4 separate regions of the Homo sapiens genome follow, and regions 1, 2 and 3 are each linked to region 4. The links are contacts of gene promoters, found by promoter capture Hi-C in blood cells and fetal thymus (Javierre and others, 2016). All regions are on one chromosome and are shown on one strand. The core of a region is centred on a gene start or on the middle of the fragment in contact, and the rest is flanking DNA. Distances in the headings are between cores, read along the strand shown. Region 1 overlaps VDAC1 (voltage dependent anion channel 1). Region 2 overlaps LOC105379182 (a long non-coding RNA gene). Region 3 overlaps LOC105379182 (a long non-coding RNA gene). Region 4 holds the start of CTB-3M24.3 (a long non-coding RNA gene).

The links. The method cuts DNA at HindIII sites, captures the fragments that hold promoters and counts their contacts. A CHiCAGO score of 5 or more calls a contact.
Region 1: a contact is called between a fragment that was not itself captured here and the fragment with the promoter of CTB-3M24.3 in region 4, in 1 of 17 cell types (naive B cells). The highest score is 5.0, in naive B cells.
Region 2: a fragment that was not itself captured here is called in contact with the fragment with the promoter of CTB-3M24.3 in region 4 in 1 of 17 cell types (endothelial precursors); the score reaches 9.4 in endothelial precursors.
Region 3: a contact is called between a fragment that was not itself captured here and the fragment with the promoter of CTB-3M24.3 in region 4, in 1 of 17 cell types (endothelial precursors). The highest score is 7.4, in endothelial precursors.

What each region holds. Positions count from the first base shown.
Region 1 is chr5:133,989,571-133,994,750 of GRCh38, forward strand. VDAC1 (voltage dependent anion channel 1) reads right to left here. Exons shown (of 9, transcript NM_003374.3): 2 at 3,376-3,448; 3 at 2,736-2,785; 4 at 1,432-1,584; 5 at 1,285-1,337. The coding sequence starts at 3,442. Among named protein-coding and RNA genes, the nearest start is that of VDAC1, 13 kb to the right of the region's middle. The HindIII fragment of the contact is 476 bases long and covers 2,767-3,242 here.
Region 2 is chr5:133,925,189-133,930,687 of GRCh38, forward strand. LOC105379182 (a long non-coding RNA gene) reads right to left here. Exons shown (of 5, transcript XR_948797.3): 4 at 3,612-3,749; 5 at 434-2,821. Among named protein-coding and RNA genes, the nearest start is that of WSPAR, 14 kb to the left of the region's middle. RefSeq lists enhancers at 3,503-3,552, 5,136-5,285. The HindIII fragment of the contact is 271 bases long and covers 3,332-3,602 here.
Region 3 is chr5:133,942,532-133,948,174 of GRCh38, forward strand. LOC105379182 (a long non-coding RNA gene) reads right to left here. Exons shown (of 5, transcript XR_948797.3): 3 at 4,378-4,425. Among named protein-coding and RNA genes, the nearest start is that of C5orf15, 23 kb to the right of the region's middle. The HindIII fragment of the contact is 2,187 bases long and covers 2,694-4,880 here.
Region 4 is chr5:133,386,321-133,391,979 of GRCh38, forward strand. CTB-3M24.3 (a long non-coding RNA gene) reads left to right here and starts at 1,562. Exons shown (of 3, transcript XR_948794.4): 1 at 1,562-1,650; 2 at 2,153-2,259. All of the region lies in intron 4 of FSTL4 (follistatin like 4), which reads right to left. The HindIII fragment of the contact is 3,410 bases long and covers 1-3,383 here.

The DNA of each region.
Region 1 (5,180 bases), core at 1,755-4,254, 600 kb after region 4:
GCTGGTCTCAAACTCCTGACCTCAAGCAATCCACCCACCTCAGCCTCCCAAAGTGCTGGGATCACAGGCATGAGTCACTGCATCCGACTCTTTTTTTTTTTTTTCTTTTGAGATGGAGTTTCGCTCTTCTTGCCCAGGGTGCAGTGCAATGGCACCACCTTGGCTCACCACAACCTCTGCCTCCCAGGTTCAAGCGATTCTCCTGCCTCAGCCTCCCAAGTAGCTGGGATTACAGGCATGCGCCCACCAGGCGCAGCTAATTTTTATGTTTAGTAGAGACAGGGTTTCTCCACGTTGGTCAGGCTGGTCTCAAACTTCCGACCTCAGGTGATTTGCCTGCCTCAGCCTCCCAAAGTGTTGGGATTACAGGCGTGAGCCACCACGCCCGGCCCACAATTTTTAAAAACTGAAATTCAGTACATGCCCTTGACCCTAACATCACTATATAAAACATCTTCCCCAGGTTTGGAAGACCCACCAATATGAGTGGAAAAAAACAAGGGTGTATTCTAAAAGGGAATAATTCCTTCTAGGCACTTTGAAAAGCACCCAGGAATTGAGGCAGACTACCATGCTATCATGCCAAGTGATGGTCAAGAACTAACAAGCCTATTACATCTGTGGCCAGAAGGCCTGGGGAAAGTGCAGCCTCAGGAGCCACCTTGCAGTTACACCCACAGGGTCTCAGTGTCCCTAAGCAGCAGGAAGCTGGGAGAAGGACTTCCATGCCTGAAGAAATGAGGCTGGCAACAGTGACCAGTTAGGCCCTGCTTCCAAATGTCACCCACTCCCGTTTGGTCATAGCCACTTACATCACCAGCAGCCTAACTCACATGAAATGGCTATTACTGAACAGAAATCCTGCAACCTCCATGGCAGAAACTAGGAGAACACTAACAAAATGCAGAATCTTATTACAAAACACGGCTAAACACTGGTCTGAATCCTCTATTAGAAAGTGAGCTCCTTGGCGGGTAACAATCATGGCCTGGGCACCCTTAGATCTCCAGATGGGCACAGGGCCAAGCACAGGTGGCACTTAGAAATCGTTTGTTGGGTAAACACCAGTCCTGAATTAGGAAGTGCTCATTATAGCATAGTCTGTTAGTGCATAGATGTGGATACGACCCCTGGGACCAAATCAAAACCAGAGGACTTAAATCGCCAGGTCTCGGAGACCATATTTTAGGTGCTGTCAGCCCCCAAAACATTTTGTCACAAAGGGCTTCCACCACCTGCAACATCAGAGAACATCCTTGTGGAGAAAACAGATGAAACTCTTACCCAGTGTTAGGTGAGAAGGATGAATCGAAGGTCAGCTTCAGTCCACGTGCAAGCTGAACAGAAAAGAAATTTGCCACTAGATTTAGTCACAAGGCAGGCTGGCAGATGCGAATTAATAAATCCACATCTTTTCACAGCAGCCATTACCTGATCTTCCACAGTAATCTCGGTGCCTAGTGTATTGTCGGTATTCCATTTCTCTGTAAACGTCAGGCCGTACTCAGTCCATCTGTACTTGGTTTCCAGACTGCCCGTCACTTTGGTGGTCTCAGTGTTGGCTGAGCCTGAGCTTGTAAATTCCTTCAAAGGAGAGAGAAGAGTCACAGCCTGCACCATAGCACTCACTTGGCTTCACTTCACTCCTAAACACTATACTTGCCTTTCTGCAAGAGGCAAGACCCTGAATGTGGGGGGGCCAAGGCTAACTCTACAATTCAAATAGATATTTAAAGTACAGATGGGAGTAAAGGAGCCTGCTATGTAAAGAAATCTTATGGGGAATTTGTTGTCAGCAGACAGCTTCCTTCCTCCCTGTAACTCTTCAGTCTGGACAGGAAAGCATCTCCCTTCCATCCTGGCTCCAGGGCAGTACAGAGAAAAAGCACTGAGCTAAAGCTGACACAGCGGTAATTCAAACCCAAAACTTCTTTCTTCCAACAATTACTGCACACATAATTTCAAAGGGACTACTAAGATTACTTTAAAAACACTTATGTGGTTGAATGCAGGTGAATTTGAAAATAAGAAGCACAAGGAAAACTAAAACTGAGACCTGACCCATTCTCCTCTATTACCCGCTGCTGAACTGGGGGCCTACTGGCATGGTTCCCCTGGACCACCCATCATGCAGAAAATGGAATGAATGTGAAAACCACAAAAACTGCCAGAATAAAAAAAAAAAAGTACCTTCTTTTGGCTTTGCGGGCCAGGTCACGACAGTTATTTGTTGATCTACAACAAATTCCCACGTTCCATACAATGGTCACTATTTGGGTAATGGGTACACTAGAAGCCCAAACCTCACCATTACACAATACATCCATGTAACAAACCTGCACATGTACACCCTGAATCTAAAATCTTTTTTAAAAATAAAAATAAGCCAGGCGCAGTGGCTCATGCCTATAATTCCAGCACTTTGGGAGGCCAAGGTGGGCGGATCACCTGAAGTCGGGAGTTCAAGACCAGCCTGACCAACATGGAAAAACCCCGTCTCTATTAAAAATACAAAATTAGCCGAGCATGGTGGCGGGTGCCTGTAATCCCAGCTACTCGGTAGGCTGAGGTAGGAGAATCGCTTGAACCCAAGAAGTGGAGGTTGTGGTGAGCTGAGATCACGCCATTGTACTCCAGCCTGGGCGACAAGAGCAAAACTCCATCTCAAAAATAAATAAATAAAATAAAATAAAAATAAATAAATACTCATGTTCCATGTGGGTTGGACAACTTACCAATCCATTCTCAGATTTTGTTTTCAAATCAAGCTTTATTAAGCCAAATCCTAAAGAAAGAAGAAGACAACTGTCAATAGGTTAAATAACTAGAGAACAGCACCTCTGCCTCCCTCATGGTTGCTTCAGGATGCTTTTTTAAAAAGAAGCACACTCCTGCCACAGGGGCTGAGGGCACCCAGTCTCTGCTGCTGCTCGTGGGGGGAGCTCTCAGCTGCCATGGAACAGCAGCAGACAGAATGGGCACCCCCACCTGGGTCCCACCTGCACTCCCAGCAGGGTCTGATAAGAAGACACCTGACAGCTGGCAAAGACACAGTTACTGGGCCTCGTGGGCATGTGCCTAAGCACAGGCTAAATATAGAAGCCGCGCTCCACTGCAGCAGCTTCCACAGGGCTGCTCCACACTTGGAAAAGAAAACAAGAATACCCACTTGACAGCACCAATGCAGGAGCCTGTCCAACTGGGTGCACAACCAAAGTTGCTACAATTGCCACACAAATGAAAGCTTCTTTTTTCCCTCACGTGAAAGTTCAGAACAGCTGACCTACCCAGGTCTCCTAAACAGTTATCGGTAAAGTCTCAAACATGCCAACTCAGTCTGTGAGCTGAAAGGCACCCCCTCTCTGCAACACTCACCATAGCCCTTGGTGAAGACATCCCTGGCAGATTTGCCAAGATCGGCATACGTGGGTGGCACAGCCATCTTCTGCTATGATAAAAGAATCACCAGAATAAATGCATTGATAATTAGGGAAATTAGCTTTCCATCAATAACAATTATTAGATGTAATTAGCAACCAATAAAAATCACCTAGCACTAAGACTACCAGGTAGCTTATCCTCCCAGATGGGCCAAGAAGCCCTTGCTGTCTTGTCCTTCATTTTGTGGCCAGAGCTTGAGACACTCAATGAGTCTTTGTTGACAGATGATCAACAATTTAGACCTCTCCTCCTCAGCATCCCCAGGACTGAGCCCAGGCCCAGAACAGAGTAGGAGTCAGGAAATATTTGCTTAATGAATAAACTGTCAAAGACACATTCCCATGAGCCAGTGACTTTACTGAATTGTAGGACTGTTGCCAATAAAACATATCATCTTACAAAATGTCAGCTACTAGGACATTAAATGTACCGAATAGAAATCAGAGCTTTTCATGGGAACATCATTTTCCATGTGGCTCTGATTTCATTCATTCAACAAATATTTATGGAGTACCTACTATATGCCAGGATGGGCCCAACTTTTCACAAAACTTTTGGACTTTATGGGAACCCACTTCATATTTCTCATAGAGAATACAGTAAAACCAAACCAGTTTGGCAGCTCTTCACATGGAAAAAACCCAAATACATCCTCCAAATACATTAAACAAATATTTATTGAGCTCCAGTGTAACTTTATTTTTAAAACCAACCATCAAAGGACTACTTGGGATTGCTGCATATCACTAAGTCAATCAACAAACATTTATTAAGCACCTCGGTGTTCAAGGAAGGAGAGTAACTCAAATAGTCTTTGCCCTAAGGACCACACTGCATTCCTGGAAGGCTTTGCTTTGGCATGCTGTATATGCTGTGTACACAGGATTAATATCCTAATCTGGGACTGTACATGGTGTGCTCTGCCCAGGAGGAGAGGGGGTCATGCATGAGAAAGCCTCATCTCCTGCACCTTCTCCATCCCCAGAATCATTAGTCTCAACCAGAAGGACCATTCCATTCGTTTTAAAATACAGTATACCTAAATTATCAAAATTCATCTGCATATATACCATCTGAAGTTACATGTATATATATTCACACAAATAAACACATATATGACATGCTCCTGGCATGTCATATGACATGATATGCTTCCATATCATCAATGGAAGTTGCATTCTTGGCCAAAGCTTTAACTTCAAAGGCATTGCAGGAGGCCACAGACTCACTGAGTATGTTGTAAAAGAAACAGTATAAACTTCTACAATTTTAAATTGTGAAGTTGTGATCCAGGTCCTACTTTACTTTTTCCAGATGCTTTGTTAATTTTATCCCAGCTCACTTTTGTGTCAGAGCACAGACAGAAGAGCAGCGAGCTGTTTACTCTGTCCTATTTTTGTCGCTGCTGTGTTATTTCTTGCACATGATCAGGCTGAAACCATGGACAGGTCAGCCCACATTAGTATCAGGGTAGAGAGATGAGGGGGGAAGATCCATTTTACACTGCCCGCCACTGGCTCTTTCCAGTCTGGGGGCTCCCCTCTCCCCACTTGTTCCTCCCTCCCAAACTAACCCTGTAGGTGCATCCCCCCGGGATAGACCAGGAAACCACCCACCAGAACCTCAAGAAATACCCTTTACCTGACACCTTCCTAGGAGAACAACTCTGGATTGAAAGCTGAGGCAATGTAACCCCAGGCAGACACAGAACATAACAGTAACGGGCCCAGAACATTCTC
Region 2 (5,499 bases), core at 2,217-4,716, 540 kb after region 4:
AGGCTGTTCATCACAACACAGAGTGCTCTTGTCAAAATGTGGGTGAGACGGTGGCATTTCTCTGCCCCATACCCCTCAATGGCCTCCCATCACCCTCTGAGCACCAGCCAAAGGCCCTACCTCAGCCCCCACCTCCAAATCCTCTCCTCTCTGCTCTAGTCACAGCAGCTTCTTGCTGCTCTTCAAACCCACCCACCAGTGCTTCTGCCTCAGGGACTCTGCCCTCTCCATTCCCTCTGCCGAGTTCCTCTCTCCCCTCCTTCAAGTACTTCCTCAGGTGCCACCTCCTCAGTTCTCCCCACTTCCATTCCGCCCACGTACACCCTGTCCCCTCCTCACTGTATTGTCCTCCCAACCATTCCAACTTTCTAATGCAGTGGATATTTGATTTTTATTGTCTTTCTTCCTCCACCAACATGTAAAGTCCACAGCATGGGATTTTTGCCTGTTTTATTCACTGCTATTTCCCAGGCACTTGGACAGCACCTGCCATGTAGAAGGTGCTCAATAGGCGTTTACTGGCTTGGCCAGGCCTAGGTCTAATGCACTCCCGAAGGTGGGTTGGTATAGGTAGAGGGCCCCCAAACCATACAGCCTGAAAGGGATGGAGGGGAGGGTCCCCAAGGCAGGGCCTGCTCTGAACCATGTGGCAGAGTAGGACTCCATCTCCAGGGTGGACTGCCCCCATCCCCACCCTCAGGGGCCCCTCCCCAGCCTGGCCTTCCTTGGAATTCTCCGACCCTGACCCACTGGTACTGAGCAAGGGGTTTGGAATTTGGAGCTGCAGGACCAGACTGTGTGACCTGGAGCCGATGAACCTCCGCTTCCTGCAAGCTGAACTCTCACATTGTCTTAGTCAGCTCAGGCTGCTGTAAAAAAACACCACAGCCTGGGGGCTTAAACAACAGACGCTTGTTTCTCCCAGCTGTGGAGGCTGGGACTCCGAGGAGGCTGCCAGCATGGCCAAGTTCTGAGGAGGCCCTCTTCCTGGTTTGCAGGCTGCTGCCTTCTTGCTGGGTCCTCACATGGCGGAGAGAGGAAGCTCTGGTGTCTCTTCCTCTCCTTACAAGGGCGCTAATCCCATCAGGAGGGCCCCACTCACATGCCCTCCCCTCAACCCTCATCACCTCCCACAGGCTCCACTTCCTAATGCCTTGGCATTGGCGGTTAGCCTCTAACAGATGACTCTGGTGAGGACACAGGCATTTACTCGGTAACTCCCGTCCTGAAGAAAAACTCTGAAGGGAGGTGAAAGTGCTCTGTAAACGCTGAGTCCACGCTCCTGTAGGGTGTATCTGGATGGAAAAAGGTGCACTCGTGCCTAACTCCTCTCTTGATGTGCCGCACATGGCTCCTCTGTGCCTCCGTTACAGTCTGTGGCCCCAGGCCTCCCCACCACTGTTCCTGGCACAGCAGGGTCCCACCCTCTGGCCAAGCGCTCCACAGCACAGCCCGCAGCCCGGCGAGGGACAGCCCCACTCTGGACATAGGCTAAGAGATGGAGAGACGTTGCTGCAGTGTTGAAGCAGATGCTCCTGTGGCCCAGGAAGGCTCACCCGGGTCATAAATCCCAGCCCAATGGTGTCCCCTACCCTCAGAGGCTAGAGAAGTCCTGCCTGAGGAGCCTCGGAGCCACGTGGGTGGGTGCTGGCTGGGCAGATTGTCCCCCAGTGCCTGCTCACAAGGCAGCCTGAGCAGATGAGCCCTTACAAACACTGATTCCATTTCCATACAAATGTCTGTGGTTGTAGCAAATACACGATGGGGAGACAGCAATGTGACATAACAGCCAAGTCAGTTCTGTAGAAGATGCTTCCTGGTGTTTGGGGGGCTTCAGAGAGCTGTGTTAGCCACCTGTCAGGAATAGTGAGGGAACCAGATGGAGCTCTTTGGAGAGGCATCAAACAAGTTTGAGATAAATCTGCCTGGAAGGGGTAATGTAATCAGGCTCAGGGAGCTGCGGGTCGGGGTAGGCAGCGCTGTTCAGGAGAAGCAAATAATTAACCACAGACTGTTCCACTCAGCTCCAGGAGGGCAGCTGCCAGCTATGGGAGTTGGCTCCTTCCCCCAGAACGCCCATCCTGCTAGCGACACCCCAGGCACCCACCCCTCTAGAGCCCAGCCATCCTTCCCAAGAGGACCAGCCAGCACAAGAGCCCAGGAGGGTTTTGTTGCCAGGCCTGAGTCTTTAGCAGTGAGGTTTCAGCCCTAGGCCCTTCTCCCCTCCATGCCATCGTCTGAAAATGGTGAATGAGGGTCTTCCTTGTAAGGAAGATACCAAGGAATTGGATGGCATCCAAATTTCCCACTGCAGGATGTTTACTACTAGAAAGGAAAGAAGGAGGGAGAAAGGGAGGGAAGGGGGCGGCCTCCTAAAGTTCAAAACCAGAGGAAAACACAGGACTCGATGAAGTTAAATGGGCCCCCTTCCTGTAGGACTTAGAGATCCTGATAGATGTGTGTGGATCTATCAGGATCCTGATAGATCCTTCCCCTACATCCTCTGTGGGAGGAACAAAAGTTTGCAGATTTTTCACAAAGGATCTTGAGGACCTAGAGTCTTAGGATACATTTTGGAAAATGCTGGATCAGCCGGTTTTCTTTTTCAATGCCATGATTCAAATATAAATTAATAAATACCACTTTTACAGTCCACACTGATCCAGGGCATGGGACATGGACTCCAGGCAGGACAGCAGGGTTCCTGGCCCAGTGCTGTGTCACTATGAGCAAGTTATTTCACTCCACGCAGGCTCCGTTTCCCATCAGTGACACGGTGATCATAACGCCGACTCCAGCACTTTATACCTGTAAAGGTATTCTGGAGAAATTACAGGCACAGGCACTGTGAATATGTGGTTTGGATTCTTCTTCACTTTCAAGGAAAAAAGTGTGTGCCCTCCCTCTCTGTCTCCTTCCACGTGGATTTGAGATTACAGTCAGCACGTGTCTCCGCAAAGCAGCAATCTTTTTCAGATTAATTGATTCGATAAATATTTTCTGAGCACCCACTATGCGCCAAGCACATTCTACGCACTGAGGACACAGCAGTGAACAAAAGGAACAAAATCCCTGTCCTCCTGGGGCTGTGAGCAGACATAATAAACAACCATTTGCATAAAAAATGGACATCGGGGGCCAGGCGTGGTGGCTCATGCTTGTAATCCCAGCACCTTGAGAGGCCGAGGTGGGTGGATCACCTGAGGTCAGGAGTTCAAGACCAGCCTGTCCAACATAGTGAAACCTCATCTCTACTAAAAATACAAAAAATTAGCTGGGCATGGTGGCACGTGCCTGTAATCCCAGCGACTCGGGAGGCTGAGGTGGGAAAAGCTTGAACCCAGGAGGCAGAGTTGCAGTGAGCTGAGATCATGCCACTGCACTCCAGCCTGGGTGACAGAGTGAGACCCTGTCTCAAAAAAAAAAAGGGGGAGGGGGCGGGAATCAACAGCAATAAGATCTGAGCCCTGAAGGGGACTGAAGGATTTTTAAATAATGACAAATAAGAGAAAGGAGGGGAGGATTCAGGCTTCCACTCTGAACCGGGTCACTCAGGTTGCTGTCTGGCTTTGGGGAAGGGGAAGTTCAGCTCCCCGCAAATAAGCTTTTACCCTTGCTCCGGCCTATGCTGGATGAGGCTTTGATGGTGGCAGCTGTGGGTCCCCATGGACCCAGCCGGGTTTCTTCTCCATCAATACAGATGCTGGGGCGCTCCTCCCTCAGCCAGCTGCTCCCTATCTCCAAATTCACTTTGTGAATGAGAGAAAAAGGAAAGAATGTGAGAATCAGGTACTTTCCCCATTCAACTCTGACTCTCTGATTAACTATTTTTATCTTCCAGTTAAAATAGAGAAATAGGGGGTGGTAGAGAGTGATATAGAGTCCCTTGTGCTGATAAACAGACTTAAAATTCTAGTCAGAAACTTTTTAAGATGATTTAAAGGAAATCACTTTCTACTTTCTGGCTTGGACGTACAAAGTCCAATCTCAGTTTTGATCCCATAACACACAGAAACTTCTCAGCCAGACCAGTCCTCACACAGAGGATATGCACTGTCGGGCCCACACAGGCCCCAGAGCCTGACCAAACTGGGGAGGCCCCAGGGACAGACCATTGAGAAGGCCAAGATCACAGACTTAAGGGCCAAGCTTCGAATATGTTTCCTTCTACTTGGACTTTTGGATTGAAAATCCTGTCCTAACCCTTCCTTCCTCTTTTGAGGACATCGTTCCAGCCTCTAGGAATGGAATCTAGTGCCTCCGGGTGGGCCAAGCCCTCCAATTCACCCCCTATATTAGTGTTCATAACCTGGGTGGCTTTAAACAAAAGAAAGGTATTCTCTCAGTTCTGGAGGCCAAGTCCAAAATCACAGTATCTGCAGAACCATGTTCCCTCTGAAGGCTCCAGGTAGAATCAATTCCCTGCGTCTCCTCGCTTCTGGATCTCACCAATCTCCACCTCCATTGTCACATGGCCTTCTTATAAGGACACCAGCCGTTGATTTAGGGCCCACCCTAATCCAGTGTTACCTTATTTTAACAAACCTCATCTGTAAAGACCCTATTTTCAAATAAAGTCACATTCTGAAATAATGGGGCTAAGACTGTAACATGTCTTTTGGATGGCACAGGTCAACCCACGACAGTCCCCATACTGCCTCCAGTATGGGTACACATTCTCCAGCATCATCACAGTCTTACTCTGCTTTTTCCTCATCAGCACCTTAGACTTTGGCTGGAAGAACATTCTGGAAAGACAGGCTCAGGAGCTTTGCAGGCTCCTGGAACTGGGAAGAGTCCAGCGTATGTGGCAACTGGGCATTTGCATGTGTCACCCACAGTCTGGATCTCTCTCCTCAGCACATCCGTGGGTCCCCACTCCGCTGAGAGACCGTGGGAGGCGTTCTGGAAGCACTACACGGTGCCTCCTCTCTTCTGAGGTAGCTCAGGCAGGGCCTTGGGCCTGTAAAGCTCTGCTGGCCACATTGGCCTCCTTACCAAGAGAAATGTTTCCAGTGGCTCTGAGCCCAGCAGTGAGTCACAGCAGGGTCCCCCACCAGCAAATGTGCTGTTCCAGCTCCAATGACATTTTGAAGCTCCCTTCTCAAAGTTTCAGATGTGGTGGATGGAGGTGGACAGGAGCTTTGAGCCAAGCGAATGCAGAGGAAGTGTCAGGCTCAACAGTCCTGAATTGGAAGTGTTCAGACACCCACCCGGAAGATGGGGTGTGGAAAACCCAAGCAGCAGAGAAAGTGAAAACGCGAACGGGCATGTGGGAGTCAGCTAGTGACGATATGATTTACGTTTGTGTCAGAGCCGCCGTCCCTGCACTGCGGTGGGTGGTTTGCTTTTGTTTGTTTTAAGTTCCAGCATTGCCACTGACTATGGGATCTTGGGCAAGTAGTTAGCCTCTATCTGTGCCTCAGTTCCCTTGTCTGTCAACCAGGGGCAGAAATACTGTCACCTTAAAGGGTTGTGGGGAAGACTTGAACCCTTCAG
Region 3 (5,643 bases), core at 2,537-5,036, 560 kb after region 4:
CCTAGTTAAAGTGCTCAAGAAATGGCAGGTATTATTAGTATTCCTATTAATATTATAAACCAGAGCACACAATGGCCCCAGCTGATCTACCAGGTCAGGAATCAGGGAACATTTCCTCCTCAGCTGCATCTCAGGCAGTGAAAGGCAAATCTCTCCAGAGGAGAGGCCCACAGATGCATCTGTGCTTTCCCACCACCATCGCGTGCCCGCCTGCACACAGGCAAGCAGCTTTTTGAGCTTTGGAACTTTACAGGGAGGACTGGATTTGGGATGAGGCCTGGGGTCGGGGAGCAAGAGGCCTGGAGCAGGGGCATTGGCCTCCAGCACACAGACATTTTCCAGTTTGCAAAGTTTCCAGCCTAGCAGAAGGAGGGTGGTTGGGGTTGGGGTTGGGGTTGGGGGAGTTGGCAGTCTGAGATGGATTAACATTTTCCTTCCTCGGGGCCTAGAGTAGTGGAGGAATTTGGAGAAGCCGCGAAGATAACTCAGGGCTGCTTTGAACATTTGAACCAAGGGCACTTCTGAAGCCAAGGGGTTGGGCGGCAGCATTGATTTTTAAGTTCATCACAGCTACAGCCTCAGATGTGGACTGTGCTGAGGGACCCAGGATCTGAACTCCTCACGGAGGCTGGTAGAAGAAATCTCCCAGGCTGTCTTTGCTGGGGACCATAACCAAAACTCTCTCCCCAAGATTTAAAAAAAAAAAATTCAGCCCTCAGAGTCCCAAGCAGGCCCTGGGGCTGTCACGAATTTCTGTGTAGTCCTTTCTGTGAAGTTCTTGGCTCTTCCCCAAGCCATGAAACCACTCCCAGAACTGGGTCAACAGAAATCATCCAGAGCAGAGAGCCAGCCACTACCTTACCTACTCAGGAGGCTCTGCAGAGGGCCAGGGCAGTCGGAGCCCTGTCCCACCAACAGTCTTGCTGTGGGACAACCATGTCCCACCAGCAGTCTTGCTCCCTTCTCCTTCGGCATTATACCCAGGGTGTGACTGGCTCCCAGCCTATGGGAAAGATGGAACTTTTTCACGGGTTTCTGGCTGAGAAGCTGCAGACATCCGAGGGACGTGCCTTCTGAGCCAGCTGCCCCAAATGGCCAAGCAGTCTCTCAACAGCAGTGCCCATTAGCTAATGCATATAACACATCTGGGGATGGGTGCACCCCATCTGTACTTCCCACCAAATGGCTCTCAGGTTGAGGAACCGTCTGTGTATCTCTAAGGAGGCATGTTGCCAAGGACCCTACCGTGGTACCAGCATTGTCCACTGAGGCCGAAGCCATTTCTCCAAGTTCATGCCTGCCCTTTGCCCTTGGAGGAGTCAGTGGAGCTGGGGACTGAACAACAAAGGACTTCAGGTTGGGACTAATGGACCTGCAGGTGCCCTGAGATTGGGGGAGTTATGACAATCGTACTTTCTTTTCTTCTTAATTTATTTTTATTTTATTTATTTTTATTTATTTATTTATTTATTTATTTTTTGAGACGGAGTCTTGCACTGTCGCCCAGGCTAGAGTGCAGTGGTATGATCTCAGCTCACTGCAACCTCTGCCTCCCAGGTTCAACCAATTCTCCTGCCTTAGCCTCCCAAGTAGCTGGGATTACAGGCATGCTCCACCACACCTGGCTAATTTTTGTATTTTTAGTAGAGACAGGATTTCACCATGTTGGTCAGGCTGGTCTCGAACTCCTGACCTCAGGTGATCCACCCACCTCAGCCTCCCAAAGTGCTGAGATTACAGGCGTGAGCCACCGCGCCTGGCCGATAATCATGCTTTCTTTTGCCCTCACTGTCGGAGATTTGGACTTACTGCCAGAAGCATCCTTCCAGCATCCAGCAGAAACTCGAAGATGCTTTTTCCTGAGAACCCAGGTAAAGAAGGAGGTCCCCTTTATGGTGTAGTCACACTACCCCCTGCTGGACAGAAGGCAGCATGGCGATGAGGGCCTGCAGTGCCCAGCATCCATGGATATTTGCCAAGTGTCGTGGGCAAGGTATTAGACACACAGTAAGCACTCAGTAACAGTCACTTATTGTTATCGTTTAGTTGCTGTTGTTGTCATAGAGTGAGGACCACCACAGAAGATCAGAGAAAGAAGTTACTGTGAGGCAGAGGGTCGCTATCGCCTTCTGGGCTCTGCCTCTGGCTGTCTATCCCAGGGGAGATGTACGCAGAGCTCTTGAGGGGAAGAAGCTGCTTATGGGCCATCATCACCTACAAGGGCACCTCCCACTTCCACAGACGGGCTCCGATCACCTGGGCCCCAAACGCCCTTGAACTAGCCTCTGTGTTGCCAAGTTCTTTCTGCCCGTGTTCCCTGAGCAGACCCTCTGCAACCTCAGCTGGTCCCCGCACTGCAAACATTTGCTGATCTATTCAGCTCAATTTAAGCTGCAGCAGACCGAAACCTCAAGTGAGCTAACATGACCTTGCTGTTTTCATTTTCATCGAGATAAGAAAATGCCAAGATAAGTAATTGTCAGAGTTAATAATTTAAAAATGCAATAGACCTTGTAATTAAAAATAAGCTGAAGGAGGCCACAAAGTGATTGTAATAATGTTTCAAGGGCCAATCACACAAAACCCTCCTCTGGCTGTGCCAGGAGAGCTGGAAGGAAAGAATCAAACTCTTGGAGGCTCTGAGCAGTTTATGTACCAGGAAAATCCTTTTCTTAAAATCTGGTCCATCAGAAAGCTTTGGATACATTTATCCAATACTGGCCACACCTTCATGAATTTTCCCTACTTATTCATGTATCTTTTCGTTTGTTTGTTTGTTTGAGACAGAGTCACACTCCGTCACCCAGGCTGGAGTGCAGTGGCCCGATCTCTGCTCACTGCAACCTCCGCCTCCCGGGTTAAAGCGATTCTCCAGCCTCAGCTTCCCAAGTAGCTGGGATTATAGGCACCCACCACCGCACCTGACTAATTTTTTGTATTTTTAGTAGAGATGGGGTTTCACCATGTTGGCCAGGCTGGTCTTGAACTCCTGACCTCAGGCGATCCACCCGCCTCAGCTTCTCAAAGTGCTGGGGTAACAGGCGTGAGCCACAGTGCCCGGCTATTCATGTATCTTTTATCAGAAGTAATTATGGACTCCCTTTCTCCCTGGCCTAACTGGAATCTGTGGACTCTGTGGCATGCTATGTTTTCTGGTTGGAATGGGATTACTGAGTCAGGAAGCTATACCCTTCTGGTACATTCCCAAAGAATCTAACACATCACTTTGAAGCCTCAGTCCCCTCCCTCTCTGGTGAGCCTTGGCGTGTTATCAAATGGTTTCCTTGTTTCATGCAGAAGGGCTGATGAGGAAAACACTGTGCCCTTCATTGATTGGCATTCATACTTGCTCTACTGAGAGAGCAAAGAGGCCTTATACCATCACCCAGGAAGGTTGCAGCTCCCATTTCTGATGGCCACTCAGTTGGTAGCAGATCAGGCTTCCCTCTGCCTTCTTAGCTTCCAGGGCAGGATACAGCTTCCCAACTCAGTAATCCCTTTCCAACTGAAAACTTAGAATGCCACAGCATTCACAGATTTCCACTTAGAGAACCTCCTCTACAGTGTATTTTCCAGACCCAATTGTTTTATTTTTAAATCCACAAACTTTTATTATTTCATTGTAACTAATTCTGACCATCATATCATAGACTTTTCCTCCCTTAAAACACACACACACACACACACACACACACACACACACACACACACACCTGGGTTTCCTCAAAAATCTAAGCCTGTCCATGGAAGGAACATCATCATCCTGCCAGTGACAATGGATACAAGGCAGAAAAGGACTCTGCAAGCTGGTGGGAGGGCAGAGAGAGGGGATGGTGGAATCAGGACAAGATATGGTCAAGGGTGTGTCCAGGCACACCATCCTACCTGGCCTCAAGGTATTATCCACCAATGTGGTCAAGCGAACCCCAAAAAACCAGACCCAGTAACCAAGGTAGCTCTGCCTGCTTCCCTTGTTCATGACCTTAGGCCCCAAAGCCAGAGGGCTCACAAGAACATGACCAAGAAAGGAAGTCAGAGGTATATTTATAAAACTAACAAAAGGAAGCCCAGAAATCATCTTTGGAAACCTAGGAAGTCTCTGGAATCTTAGAACCTGCAGAGACCTCCCCTTCAACAGAAACGGAATTTTCAGAGAAAACATCAAGACTTTAGGGAGGTAGATTCACTTATCCAAAGAACATACAGACCCCATAAATGTTCACCCTGGCCAACAGTCTCCCTGCTCAGGGCACCTGAAACAGAACTACCACATTTCTACCCATCACAAACCCAACCACAGACTATGGGTGCCAGAAGGGCAAGAAGGGAGGGTCCAGCCCCTAGAGTAACCCAGTGATGGATCCCAAAGGGCCATACCTGATCCTATAATGTGAAATTGGTGTCCTCAAGCTCAGACATCTGTTTCTGGGAGAGAAGAGGAAAAGGAGAGGATCAGAAGGAGTCCTCAGGCTTCCAAAAAGGATAGAAGTGTGTTCTTATCTTCCACTATGGAAATACAATTGGGTCTGGGTTCTTGAGAGCCTGTGGATGGGTTAGGCAAGGCCAGGGGTCCCCCTCCAAGCAATGCTCCTGAGCTCCAAAATGAAATCTCTGGGTTCCTTTCCAAAATATGAACTTGATTTGTATGTTCTTTTCTTCAAACGTGGAAAAGATGAGCTCACTGCAATATTTTTTCTCAATTTTCTTTGGAACCAAGATTTGACCCCAGGAGCCAATCCAAGCATCATGTGTTTGGTGAACCTTTCCCTTGCCCTGTATCCCCAAAACTCAGCACAGGGCCTGGCTCAGTACAGGCAATCACTAGATGTCTATTGAATGAATGAGTTGCTTGTGGGCTCCTAGAGCAGAGTGAGACACCAAGCTTCACATTCTTTATAGGCATAGCATATCTCAGGGTAACTTTCCTGTGCTGGTGTTTCATTTGGCCATGCCTCCTTCCTAATGGGCTGAAAGACATGCCTTGTGTGTCTCCCGCTGTTGGAACAGTGTTTACTACATGGCTTTCTGCCTACAGGCCCAAGGCCAACAATCTAGCCCATGAGTTAATGACTTTCAGCAGCAAAGAAGCCCAGTAGACCTTTGAAACGGTCTACTACTCTCAACCAGGCAGCAGGGCAACCTTAACTTTTTCACTGTAAAAGGGCAGACTAATATAGGCAGAACTGGATTTGTAATAAGAAATGAACACACTCTATCTGGTGGTAACGGTAAGATGAATCATTTCCAGGATCCGAGAAAATCTTACGCCAGTGTTTATGTAGTAGAAGCTCCTTCATTTGGAGTCTGCTAAAGGCAGGGGGTTGCAAGACATTACAGCTATGCACTTACAGAGCCTAACAAGTAGTTGCCATACTGCTCATAGAGACCTGACAAAGGGTCAGAGAAAGTGGCTAGCTCTGCCTGGCGTCTGTCTCAACATCTTTGCCAACACATGCTTCACTTCATCAAGAAAGAAAGAGGGAAACTTCTGCTTCCAGCTATGATGGAGTAGTTGGTACCAGTCTAGCCCTCCCACCACGTGTTAGTTTGCTATTGCTATAAAGGAATACCTGAGGCTGGGTAATTTATAAAGAAAAGAGTTTTACTTTGGCTTATGGTTCTGCAGGCTGAACACGAAGCATG
Region 4 (5,659 bases), core at 312-2,811:
AGAGTCTCCGTGGGGCTATAGCCACAGGAATCCTGGTGGTGCCTTCACTCAAGTTCTTTCCTTCCCAGCCTTCTAGACAGGCACGCTCAACTGTGCATCTTGTTTTGTGCCAACTGTTTCTCTAAATTAGTATATGGGCTTCTGTCAGCATGTTTTACAGAGAGAAACCACATTTCTCAGCAGTGGACTTTGCCTTCCTTTTGTATAGATTCCCCATTTCTTCAGGTCTTCCTGATACCCACAGTTGTTTACCCTGAGAACCACAAAAGTTTTTAATATGGAAAGTTTGTTCCTTTAAAATTGCTAGGAGAATGTTTATTGAGACAAGCCTGGCACATAAACGAGATCTTCATGTCACTGAAATTTGGCAGGGGGCAGAGGTGGGGACACTGGCGAGAAGGAACCCAGGCAGAAGTGGAGAGACAGAAAGGTGTGACCGAGAAATATGGACGTTTTTCTTCCTGTGCAACGAAGCCCTCACCCTGTGTTTCACGTGGCATTGGCGGGGACTTTCTTCCTTTGTAATGTGCTCACTGGGGTTGTCACGTCACATAGCCACGTGGAGACAGCCACTGAAGTTCAAAGACAAGATGGGTGTAAATGTGATTCATTTCATTAAAACAACTGGATATACAATATTTGATGTCTGCGGTAACTCTAACTTCTCCTCATTTCCCTTTAGGGGAGTGAGAGTTTTTAGGTACCTGCTGTCTGATCAGTTGCAAGTGCCAAGTCTGGTGGAGGAGGAAGGAATGCAGCCATAACATCAGCAAAGCTGCATGAAGTCTTTCCCTCTGCTGCTGCCCCTGCCCTGTACCTGGTTGTTCATGTCCCACCCACCCACTCTTCCAGGTTCAGGTCAAGCCCCACTCCCTGACAAATATCTCTCCTAATCATGGGAGTGGCCACTGACACACACTGAAAGGGGATGGGCAGGTGCCAGTACTGGTGCCGTCATTTACAAGTCCAGTAACTGGGAAAGTTATCTGGCTTCTCTTTGCCTCTCAGTAAACACCAACTAGGAAAAGGAGTGCATGAGATGACGTCCATACAGCCCCTGGCGGTGGGCTGGCAGCCTGGCACATTCTCCGTGAATGAGAATGTGTATTTCCCATGATCCTATCCACCCCACCCTGATGGCCATTCCTTCTTTTCTGCAAGGCTGTGTCCCATGGTGGCCCTTTATTGCCTTGGGGGTTGAACTTCTACCTCTATCTCTTAACAGGGCAGCTCTTCTACCTTCTTTGCCTTTTCTTGGCAACAGAATTTGGCTCTTATGCATTTCTCTCTAATTGGTTAATCACATTGTATTGACTGCAACATTAGAACCAATAGTTCAGGCCTTCCCAATTGTCCTGACCATGTCACTGGCATACTGACACACGCCCATGAACAAAGGCTTCATCACACAAGGAAGACACACTATGACCCGCTGCGGTTTTCTTCCACTTCAGTTGTAGCCCTGCATGCTTTCTGGGGAGCACACTCTAGCCACCGAGATGAAGGCACGGGGAGGCCCGACCGTAGGTCGAACACGTCAGTCAGTGGCTGATCCTTCCCATGGTCTCTGGATACACCAGTGAAGGCAGGAGGTGAAGTCTCCCAGATCACCTGGGAACAGCCATGGACACTTGTCTGGGGCTGCATGAGGTTTGTTCTGGGCTCTGATGGAATATTGCCCTCATGTATGCTTTTTAACATACCGAGTCAAGGATTATGCAGGATCTGTTGAAATTCCAATAAGTCAGTCAAGAAAATTAAGCGCACTTAACCTCATCATTTACCCTTTGCAATTTTTGGTAACTATATTTGAAAAAGTTATTTAGACACCTTCTCATTTCAAGAGCCTCTGTGCTCACCTAAGCCTTGAGTTCCTCTTTGTCAGATTCTCTGATTTCTCTGTAGAATGTGAAGGGTTCATCTTTCACTTTTTTTCCCAGCCAAGAGTACACGGATGGTGTATTATTTGAACCCTTGCCCAGCAGAAAATACTTTTTATTCTTTCCATACATGGATCACCATTTGATAAGTGTAGAATTCTTGCATCATGGTCTTACCACCCCAAAATTCTACCAATGTTCTTCATTGCCTTCTTGCTTCTTAATATCGCAGAAAAGTCCAAGAACAGAATGTTTTTTTTCCTTCCTACCAGACAGTGTCTGAGACTCACCTTTGACACAAATGTAACTGAAGGGGAGAAGCTGCCCCTGGGCAAGCCGGTCAGCTGAAACCACTCAAGAGCCCCCAGTGCAACACCAGGTAGGACTTTTTTTTTTTTTGTCTGCTTTGTTTTTCTCTCTCTGGATATTTCAGATCACTTTAATTTTTTTTTTCAAAACCTAAAATGTCAGCAATTATATTTTGACTTATTTGATAGATCTTTCAGTATAGGGCACTTATTTTTTTGGATCTCTCTTTGCTTATTGTGTCCATTTGAATTGCTCTGAGGTCTTTAAGATAACCAATCACTATTATTTTAAATCTTTTATCTCTGTCTTACATAACTATCATCCTCTCCCACAGTATTTTTTAAATCTTCTTCTCATTCTCGGTGTATTTGGGGAGCGGTTTTCAAGTTTGTTCCCTGTATTGGAACAACTATGATTTCTGTATGGTTAATCTTTCCTTTGACTGCTTGAAGTGGAGAAGGAACTTCTGCAATTGTATTTCAGGTTCTTTATATTCTTTCCTTACCTCCCCCAGCTTCCATTTTATTTTTGACTGTGGCTCAGCCAATTTACAATCCCATTTTTTATCTCATTTCAGAGTTCATGTTTTCTTGCATTGGGAGTAGAACACAGTTGCTGTCTAAAATGAGCTTCTGTTTCTTGTAATAATTTTTCCCCAAAGCATGCTCTTTTGCTGCATCTTAAGTGTGTGCTCTCCTCCTCCTCTGTTGCAGAAGCCAGCTTCCCTTTCATTCGTGTTCAGACAGGTCTGTTCAGGCTTCACCTCTGTTTACTCTCACTGCAGCCCAGTGAGATTGACCAGACTGGAATTACAGCTAAATCCATGGTCACTGCCACGACATATTGCATCTGGAGAGGGGTCTTAACTTCCCTGTAACCAGCATTCATGGCTAAACAGTTGAGAGACGCCCTTGAAAATCTGGAGTTCTGCAGGTGGGTGGGAAGGAGAACAAGCAAGCTCACTCTCTGCGGAATTAGGATGATGTGTCACTGACCCTTTCTGACACCCCTGCCCCTACCCTGGTGTCCCCTTCTGAAACCTCCTCCTTTGTCTAGGGTATTTCTTCTTTTGTAGCTTTATAAGAGACATCTTCCTCGCCCCTGCTTTCCTGTCCATCACCCACCTATCCAGAAAGGTTCTGCCCTTCATATCCTCTGATGTCTCTAATCTCGGGTTCCCCAAATCATTGGACAAGCTTGCACGGGGAAAAGACTAAAGTCTCAGCTATGAGGACTCATGCAGACCTGGGTCTGTACAAGCTCCACCTGACTGGATATAAGTAAAGATCTCTGAAAATCCCTATAAAAATACCTTGGGTTTATTATATTTTGATGGAAATATGGATCACTGGATGAGCATCTGAGAAACAGAGACAAAGATGGGGTGGAGGAAGGCAGAAAGAGACAGAGATGTACAGGTGTATTGGAGGAAAAGTCAGAGAGCTAGCCAGGCCGAATGAGTGAGGGAGGCAAAGGCTCAAAGAGGCATTTGCTGGACCACTGTAGACCAGGCCTTTGGGCATACCTTAGCCAACTGAAGGGGGCATGGAGTGCACTGAACACAAGCAGTGGAAGAGAAAGCACAAGTTCCCTAAGGAAGACAAGAAAAGAGACATGGCTGCTAAGTCCCTGGATGAGCCCTTTTTTCCAGCTACAAAGAGAAGTGCACAACTGAGATCACCCTGCTTATAATAAGTGGACGGAGTTCACTGCATCTGGCTATTTTAATTACCTGCAAGCAAAGTGATTTTGCTACTTTCCTTTAGAGGAGCTTTTTGAAAGTAGTTTTCACTCTGATTACTTTCATTAACAAGTGATCAAAATGCATCAAAGCAGAAATGAGCACAACAAGAAGAAAAGCAGAGGGAAGAACTCTCTAGGAGATGTCCAAACTCAGTAGTCACTGTTAAGCTCTGTCTTCCCTCATTAGCCTGGAGAATACATGTGTTCTGGATCTGGCCCTCATGAGGCACCCAGGTGCAGGACTGGGCACAAGCTCACCTACAATCAGGAAGCATGGGTGGTTCCCGGAGACCCAGGATGCTGTACAGGGCTGGGCCCCAGCTTTCTGTAGTTCTGTCCCTCAGTTCTCCTGGCTGAGGACTCAACTCCACAGACCTTACATTCAGTTGTTTGGTGTGGTCTTGTTCCTCCTTCATCCAATGAGCCTGCTCTGCTGGGAAGTGTTTACTCCTGAAGACACTCTCTGCTGATGGAGATGAGCAGTCATTTACTCTCCCCTGGGTCACTGCCTCCTGATCCCCCTCATTTATTTCAGTTAACTTGACACAGTGGCAAGTGCTCCTCCCTCTCTTTGGAGAAGATGGCCCAAACTGGGTCACTGCTTCCCTGTCCAGAAAAGCAGGCAGAGAGGCTGAGTGATCATGCGAGGCACAAGGGCTGGGGCGAGGGAGGGAACAGCCGAGCCCCCAGGCCTCTGCTCAATTCTTGTACCCACTGTCCTCCCAGCCACTGGCCCCTTCAATGCCTTATATCACTAGGCAGCAGAGGAACCTGAAAGGGATCCCATATCTAGAAAAGAGCATGAAAGTCCTGTCCTTGAGCTTGCTAGTGGGCATAAAACACTTTGAGGCAGGCGTACAGAGACCACGTATTTGAGTTGTGGCTGGTCTGACAGCTGCTGAGTCTATCACACAGATAATTAGACAAACTGCTTGAGCACAGAGATTCAATACATGGTGTCATTTAGCGGCTGCTACACGGGGGCCTTGATCTTAATTGAAGGCACGATAGGGGAGAACCTTAAAGGAGTCCCAAATCAACTTCTTCTTGCTCCAGTAATTAAACATCTGGCTCCTGGTGATCATCTGAAACCTCTCGAGTGTTGGGCATAGGGTCCACTCACATGGATCTGAGCACCTGAGCCACCGGCACCCCTCCTGTCCACACAGGGCCTTCCTCAAACAGCCTCCTGCGGAGAAGCCTGGGGAGGAGGCTCCATGTCACTCCCTCCCCTCATCAAGGCCACTTTTGGGTGGGCCTCACGGAGTAATGAGAAGGGCAATATAGCCAAGTGGCAAAGAACTTGGGCTTCCAATGGCCGACAGAGCCCTATGGGGAGATCAACCCCATCAGCCCTCCGACTTGCTCAGTTTCTCTCTGCTTACTTACCCTGGTCCAGCAACTCTGGCCCCCTTGTGAGCCCCCAAACACGCTAGGCAAGCTCCTACCTTAGGATCTTTGCAAACTTTGTATTGCCACTGCCTGGGATACTCTTCCCCCAGATATTCAAATGCCTCACTCCCTAACCCCCCGGCCTGCTGCAGACCTTTGCCCAAATGTCACTTCTCATATCAGAGGCTCTGGCTAACTGCCCTCCTGGCTTTATTCTGCTCCATGGCACTTGTCACCATCACATAGACTTCATCTCTTGTTTACTGTTTGTTTCTCCCACAAGACTGTACCTGCCATGGGGACTGGGCTCTGTTTTGTTCCCTGCTGTGTCCCCA